Linked DNA regions of Homo sapiens: regions 2 and 3 are each linked to region 1. Evidence: promoter capture Hi-C in 16 types of primary human blood cells and fetal thymus (Javierre and others, 2016). All regions are on one chromosome and are shown on one strand. Each heading gives the region's core, a stretch centred on a gene start or on the middle of the fragment in contact. The rest is flanking DNA. Distances are from core to core; before and after follow the strand shown. Region 1 holds the start of MBIP (MAP3K12 binding inhibitory protein 1). Region 2 overlaps FANCM (FA complementation group M). Region 3 overlaps G2E3 (G2/M-phase specific E3 ubiquitin protein ligase).

Region 1 (2,706 bases), core at 148-2,647:
AATGAAAACAAATGATCTGAAACTGATTGCTAATTTGGTACAAAACAAAAACTTACAGTTACCCCATTACCATGCTTGAATAAGAAGGTTGCTCAATTTGAGACTGGACATTGTGAAGTATTTTTCTGCCTGTAGAAATAGGCTGGAATGTCAGTTGTATATCTTGCTGCCAACAAGGGAACAGAAAAGATTTCCCAAGATTCTGTCAAGCCTGGTGATCCCATTTGTCTTTGGAAATGAAAGCCTAATTAAGAGACTCCCTAGGGACAGGTCAAAGGAGTTTTTATCCCCATCGTCCTTATCTTAGTTCCTTGATGCATTAGTCCTTCCCTTTAATTTAGTCTACCCTAAAACTAAAGAATACACATTGTGCAAGTTTCCACCTTTGCTTTCTCTACTGTAAATGCATTAGACTATTAACAGAATTACGAGTTTTAAATCCCACCTTCCTTATCTCTAAGCTGATGTTGATTTCTTAAAGTGTTTTTGAATAAAGCTTAACACTAAAAATTATTGTAATACTTTAATTGGATAACACTTTTTAAAAATATCGGAGTCTGACTAAAAGATTACAAAACCCCACAAACATCGTTATAATAAAGCTATTATGATAAATAATACTTTGTAAAATTTGAATTCGGTTTTATGTCCTAATTTCAAAGATTGTGGTTGCATGATATTATTTATCCAGGTTAAATTCCTGTTGGAATTATATTGACAGTGTTTCATTTCTTTGAAACAATTTTAGGGTTAAGCGTCTCTACAGTTAAAACAGAGAATATCAACTGTAGTCCCAGTTACTCAGGAGGCTGAGGCAGGAGAACCGCTTGAACCTGGGAGGCGGAGGTTGCAGTGAGCCGAGGTAGTGCCACTGCACTCCAGTCTGGGCGACAGAGTGAGACTCTGTCTCCAAAACAACAACAACAAACTTGAAGAGATGAAAATGTTCTATCCAATCATGATAATTCCGTGTGAGTTTTCCAATGTTTAGAAACACGTGTGGGCACCACTCCATCCCTGACCAGCAAGCTTCCTCCAGACCCACTCCACACCGCCATGTTAAAATGTCAACTTTTACTTTTTGGACTCAAACTACAAAATTTAACTATGTCTCCTCTTACCAAGATTCACAATGAACACCTAGGAGTCAAGGTAGGCTTCATAACGCTAAAGAGACCACGACTCTAATGACCACCCCAAACACAGCATTCCAGCCTAGCTGTGGTCTGCAATTACCCACTTCAGAGCCTCGGCGCAATGTCACAGCTGCAACTGATTGGTGTAACGTGCTTGTCATTCACATAGAGAGGGTGGGGCCTCAAAGCCCGATCTAAACCAGACTCCGTGTCTTACGTCATCGCCAAGCGACTAAAGCTGGAAGGGAGGGGGCGGGGTTGTGAGCAAATCTTGGTGGTGGTGGTGGTGGGGCGGCCTGAGAAGATATCATGGCTGCTGCCACGGAGCTTAATCGCCCGAGCAGCGGTGACAGGAACCTGGAGCGAAGATGCAGACCCAACCTCTCCCGAGAGGTGCTCTACGAAATCTTTCGCTCCCTACACACCCTGGTTGGACAGGTGAGAGGTGGCCTGAGGGACTGGGAATATGGAAACCATCCGGTCCCTCCTCGCCATTCTTTTTCTCTAGCAGAGGCCGGGGGCAGCTAGGCCTGCAGAGGTGTGGGATGCGGTCCCGAAGCCGAGGTGTGGAAGGAGCCCGGGCCCAGCCTCCTCGGTCGGAGTGAGGAGGACGGCGGTACCGGTTGCAGAGTCGTTTACCTTGCAGCTGTCCTCCCCAAGAGTGGGTGAGGTTGGCCTAAGTGAAAACCCGGCTCCGAGAGAGGCAGGCTTGGAGAGAATGAATGTGGAAAAGCTTCACTGCGAGTTTAGGAGGCGCTTAGCGTTCAGGGTCCTTTTTCCTCCAACTTACTCTTTATGGGAATTGGTTGGTCAGTAGGCCTGAGATTTATAGAAAAGCGCGCGCTTATTAGCTTTTTTTGGTGGGGGAGGGAGTAATTTGTTCTTATGAGTTACTTGGTTTTGTTTATTTCTTTTTTCCTTCGGGCTGTTTTGCGCATCTATAATCCTTTCAAATGGGGAGAAAAGTAAAAGGAATTCATTTAAAATACTTCTAGCGTAAAATGCTGTTGGCGTTAGAACTGTCGTTATTTAACTATTAACTAGTTTAACTGGCTGATAAATCGCTTTTGCAGAAATGTCATAGTAAAATTGGTTTTAAATTGAAATGGGCTTCTTCGATCAAGTCACTGTTTCGTTTCATGGTGTAAAATTCAAGTTTTAAATGAGAAACAATTTAAAAGTATGCTTGTTTACCTGCCTTTTAAAAGGAAATATTTTCTATCTTACATAGACCATTTTCTAGCCGTAAAAGTTTGTTTTGGGGCTGGTACTAGCGCAAGTGGACAAAGCAGGCATTTGTGTCAAAGATAATGGTAAATTCCTATGAAAATAGAACATTTGTCTGATTTGTGAAAATTATTTTTAAAGCCTTGAGTAGATGGAGAATCAGTCTTTTAAGAAGTTACTATTTTTAAAAATCGTAGTATGTTGTGTCTTACAAAGAACATTACTGTAAGTTAAACGGTTTTATGAAATGACGCAGTTATTAATGGAGTCTGCTTAAAGATATAACTTTTAAATTCAGTTGTTTGCCAAGTACTTACCAAAAACATTTTTTAAAGACTTGGGG
Region 2 (2,706 bases), core at 151-2,650, 8.8 Mb before region 1:
CAAAATTTATTTAAAAATACCTACCACAATATTCGGAGATGGGTTTTTCCTAAACTGATCTCTTGCCAGAATTATCTGATATTTTGTTAGATTTGGGATATCCCTTCTCATCAAAACATTCCTCTGAATCAAAGAACGAGCAAATGATTCCAAAATCTGCAAATTTAAAAGCAATCTAGTTTAAGCTTGCTCTAAAGTCCTTTTTCAAGTACAATCATTTTCTCACATATTAAAATAGGAATTATATATTTAATAAAGTTTGTCTTACAATGAATGTTTAAGTAAACTCAGCAATGATAACATTTAAAACTACTTGACATCTATCCCCAAATAATATCCATATAAAAATCAACATAAGCAATTATTATATACAACTGTAATTTAACAACACATTCGTTTATCTGTTTATTTCTTAACTCCTCTCTCTCTCAACCTACACACACTATAATCTAAGTGTAAGTACCATGAACGAAGACCTTTGATTTCTGCACTGTTACATCCTCAGTATCTAGACCAGTTTGGCACTTAGGTCCTCAGCAGATATTTGTAGAGTAGTTTGTAAAGTACTGAATAAATTGAAATGTCCTGAATATATTTAATTTTACTCACTGATGCATTTTTTTCAACAAATATTTATTAACCATCTACTATGTAACAGGCACTGTTCTAAATGCTGGGGATAGTGTGGCTAAGACTTTATTTGTCACTGCTCTCATATAGTTTACATTCCAATGGAGGGAACCGAAGAATAAAGAAGCGAACAAAGAAAGTAGATCATTTTCATTATAACAAATGCATTTAAGAATCTAAAACACAATAATGCTGTAGAGTCTTTGAGAGGAAAGGGATCATTATTAAATAAGGTGAACAAAGACTCTCTTTGAGAAGAGAACATTTGAGTTCACATGTGAATGATAAGGTATGTCTACCATGTGAGGTTCTAAGGACAAAGGATTCCAGAGAGAGGAGACAGCAAACAAAAAGTCCTGAGGCGGAAATGAGCTTAATGGCACAAAAGGAGACCTATAGATGAAGACCTACTACCGCAGTATGTAAGTGTTTAAATTTTTGCCTAATTTGTATTTTCTAAATTATGGCTAGTTTAATACATTTTTTTTCCTCCCTTCCAACTTTGCTGATCATACTGCCTAATAAGGCACTCTAAAAATACTAACAAAATTAAATTACATTTGTATATGATTATAAGAATTATCATATTTACATTGTTATAAATGGAATGATTTTCAATTAAAAATGCACTAGTATCAAAGAGACAATTACAAAAAGACTTTGCCATATCTTAACTCAATAATGCTTAGAATTTTGTTACAAACAATTTAAAAACAAAAAAGCTGTATTACTACAAAATGTCTCTTTAAGAAAGGCTTACTATAGATTAAGTGACAGATAACTTTTTGGTTATCTATTTCTGTAACCATCTTTAATCCATGGCAATGAAAATGTGAAACCATGTTGTTCAACCATGACACTAATTATGAACTACAGAAAAACAATGTGTTACCACAAATTTCTCCCAGTGAAAATGACAATTGTCTAAGCAGGTCCTTAACAGCTATAATATTGACATTTGAGCCAGATAATTCTTTGTTGTGGGGTTGCTGTCCTATCCATTGTAGGATGTTTAGCTGATTCCTGGCCTCCATATACTAGATGCCAATAATAACTCCACATTTCACCTGTTACCTCCCCCTTCTCTCCTGCCTTTTTGTTGTTGTTGTTGTTGTTGTAAGAACCAAAAATGTGTCAAGTCATTGCCAAATGTTGCCAGGTAGGTGAAGTAATTTCCAGATGAAAAGCACTGCTGCATAAAGATCAGGGAGGACAACAGTGAAAATATATTTCAATACAAAGAAACTTCTGGGGGCCGGGCGCATGGTGGCTTACACCTGTAATCCCAGCACTTTGGGAGGTCGGGGCAGGAAAATCACTTGAGGTCAGGAGTTCAAGACCAGCTTGGCCAACAAGGTGAAACCTCGTCTCTATTCAAAAATATAAAAATTAGCCAGATGTGGTAGCATGTGCCTGTAATCCCAGCTACTTGGGAGGCTAAGGAGAACTGCTTGAACCAGGGAGGTGGAAGCTGCAGTGAGCTGAACAAAAAACAACAAAAAGAAAACAAAGAAACTTCTGGCTGAATCTCAGTACGTGTTCATGTTACGGGTGTGTGCAATTTGTGAAAATTCACTGAGCAATACACTTATGCTTTGTCTACTTTTGCTGTTTGTGTGTGTGTGTGTGTGTGTGTGCATGTTCTATATTCCAGTTATAAGGTTTACTTAAAAAAATACAAAACCATGTAAGGCTATTATTTGCTTTACAAATGGCCCATCTTTTGTATTTTCCCTTTCAATAACAGTTTGCTAGTACATACAAAACACAGTGCTCATTCCAAAAATTTTAACTTCAAAGAATTTTTTCAACATATCAATTATATAAAAATAAGATAACTATATTATCACATCCAAATCCTGTTAGCTGAAATAATTCAATTACCAGTTTATTTATGAAATCCCTAAATGTCATAAAAATGGTTTACCTGGATATAGGTCTTTTGGATGGCTGCAAGTTCTTCACCAAGCGGAACAATAAGCTTTTCAACTTTTCTTTCATGAGAATATGTCAAAATATCTGGAGAATCTTCAGAACGAAGCTCTATCTGCCCAATTAGCAGGTTAGTAATAACTT
Region 3 (2,706 bases), core at 85-2,584, 5.7 Mb after region 1:
GAATCAGAAAGACTGAAAATAATCTATGGCTACAGATTGTTCATTAACCTAATTTACTATAGCCATTTATCTGAGTCCAGATTTTTGGCTTAAATAATTTATTCTGGTAAGCTATTTTACATTAGAGGATACATAGTTTTAACACAGATTCCCTCATTTCTATAGGTTCCTGGGTGTCAGACACTAACTGCTTGCTTATAGGATCTCTCAAATGTGGAGAGTAAAGGAATCTTGTATCTTTCAGTTTCGTCAGAATCTTAATCTTATTAAATCCCAAAAAATTACTTAGTTTAAATAGGCAGTTTACCTTTAGTGGCATAAACACATTTATTTATTTATAAAACATTGTTATAAATGTCACGCTTTTTGGTTAATCTGGCAGTCTTTAAAAGGGGGGGAAATAGGCTGACATATAAACGATCACCTAGCATAATACCTGGCATAGTGTAGGTACTGGGATATGTTTATGAATTAGAAGAGATAATGGTCAAAATCAGAACTTGAAAACTGAGTCTCTTCAAGACAATCCAAATTTTCCTAAACCACAGATAATATACATTCAAGTAATTCATCATTAAATGGGTTATGTTTTGTATTGCATTACTTGAAGCATGAAACTTTGTATTGCATTACTTGAACCATAAAAACTAGTTTAATAGCTTATTTTAAAGTAACAATGCAGTACATGATAATCACTATATAAAAGAATTACATGTTTATAATGTAATGATTTTGTTCTGATCATTTTCTTATAATGACTGAATGCTAAAGGCACAGTCACTGAAAAAACTTACCTAATATACTCCCCTTGACTTAGTATTTAGCACTGAATACAAAAGTTCCAATAGCTTCCATATAATTAGGGGAAAAATTTACAAATGCATAAAATAGAAACCAAGGTGAATTCTCATGCTGGTAATCAATCAAAGGCTTTTTACTTAACCCAAACAAAAAAAGTCACTTCCTCAAATTACAGAAACTAAAAATTACAAAGTATAAAATTGTAAGTTTCTGGTGAGATATTTTAAAGAATATCTTGAATAGTAGAGAATTGTATAAAAGGTGTTAAAGTTTCCATATTGGAAAGTGTTTAAAAACAATGAATATCAAACTAACCAAAACCATTAACAGTAGATGCATTATAGATCAATTTATAGTTTTCCTCAACATTAAGAGCAAGAGAAAACAGCCTTAAAATATACAACATTTAGGCAATTGCAATATTTAAGAAATATATGTACACATTTATAAAGATTTATAGCATAATTCTTTTTTAAAATCTAATGTAAGAATTATGCACTGGTTATAAAATTAATAAGAAAAGAACAATTATAATACCAACCATTTGACAAAATGACACTGCAGAAAATAAATAACCTACAGGTTTCTCTGATATTCCTTGACCATACAGATTAATCTAAAAATGGTAATAATGGAACATCCTTCAAACTAGAAAACATTTTGCAAAATAAATATTTATGCTTCACTTTAAAACATGAATATCCTAAATTATTTACACCATCTTATCACTAAGGCCCTGTCTATATATAAAATAAGTCAAATGAGGAATTGAAATACTGTTTTTAATTGTAGCTAACCCAAGTACACTGCCTCTCCACCTGCCACCCCCACCCCAACAAAGTATGTGTGTGTGACTTAATCAGCTTTAATTTCTACCCTAGGGGAAATTAATTGCAACTAAAAACCAGAAAATAGCTTTAACTAGGTTTTATTGGTTTGTATTGGTTTTTAGCTGTAATAAAAATAAGGTGGATAAAGAAACAAATATCTTTTTATCAACATATTTGGAATAAAAACTGTATGGTGACTTTGGGGTTTATATTAGCTATTCAAACTCTTTGATAATTGATCTTTCAATTACTATTGGTGAGACAAAAAAATTCAACCAAAGCCAAAGAAATGTCTTGTTTAATGTTCTTAAATATTTCAAGTTAAAGTAAAACAAATTTGCTAGGTATGTTAGTGTACAGATTGAAAAAGACATGAGGGAACAAAGAAAAGTACACTAGAATTATGTTTTAGTTTTCCTTTGGTATTAAGAGATATATTATCTCTTTCAAATCTATTCTGTTACTTAAAAAATATCAATAATGTAATGATTTTTCTTAAGAAGGGTGAGAATACAACAGCTGACACCTGCTTTGTGTATTAAGAAAAATATGGTTAAAACATTTTACTTCCCATAATGATTTACTTTCATGGAAAACTGAACCATTATATCATTTAAATATGTTAATAGATTAAGGACATCAGACTTTGTTTTCCAATTTTTTCTTCTGTGGGAGTATAAATATGGGGACATGACTATGGGACTATATATTTTCACATTGTTAGCACTTTGTTAGTACAGTTACTTTTAGGTATTGTCTTTTAGTAGCATTATTAAAGTTAAAAAATAAAGGAAACAGAAGTAAAGAGTTTATAGAAGGATACACAGAAATACGGTACTTATCTCTGAGTGGTGACATTAGAATGGGTTTTTCATTCTATCCTTTTTACTTTATTTATACATTGCTTATATAACAGATATCATTCAAGAGCAATGAAGATAACTGTATAATGCTATGGCGTCAACTTACCTTAGCATACAACCAACTTGATAATAAATAATGGTCAAATGGCCAAACCTACCAATCCACAGAGATCATTCAAATATCTAAAATGATTATGGATCAGACATACAGA

Evidence for each region. Contacts are between HindIII fragments. The CHiCAGO score rates a contact against its expected background, and 5 or more counts as called.
Region 2: a contact is called between a fragment that was not itself captured here and the fragment with the promoter of MBIP in region 1, in 1 of 17 cell types (naive CD8 T cells). The highest score is 5.2, in naive CD8 T cells.
Region 3: a fragment that was not itself captured here is called in contact with the fragment with the promoter of MBIP in region 1 in 4 of 17 cell types (total CD4 T cells, total CD8 T cells, non-activated CD4 T cells and 1 more); the score reaches 14.0 in total CD4 T cells.

The regions. Positions count from the first base shown.
Region 1 is chr14:36,319,328-36,322,033 of GRCh38, reverse strand. MBIP (MAP3K12 binding inhibitory protein 1) reads left to right here and starts at 1,397. Exons shown (of 9, transcript NM_016586.3): 1 at 1,397-1,574. The coding sequence starts at 1,446. RefSeq lists enhancers at 999-1,048, 1,449-1,708. The HindIII fragment of the contact is 840 bases long and covers 1,032-1,871 here.
Region 2 is chr14:45,148,847-45,151,552 of GRCh38, reverse strand. FANCM (FA complementation group M) reads right to left here. Exons shown (of 23, transcript NM_020937.4): 4 at 2,558-2,706; 5 at 25-156. Among named protein-coding and RNA genes, the nearest start is that of FANCM, 14 kb to the right of the region's middle. The HindIII fragment of the contact is 2,426 bases long and covers 188-2,613 here.
Region 3 is chr14:30,617,440-30,620,145 of GRCh38, reverse strand. G2E3 (G2/M-phase specific E3 ubiquitin protein ligase) reads right to left here. Exons shown (of 15, transcript NM_017769.5): 15 at 82-2,706. Among named protein-coding and RNA genes, the nearest start is that of SCFD1, 3.5 kb to the left of the region's middle. The HindIII fragment of the contact is 4,510 bases long and covers 1-2,706 here.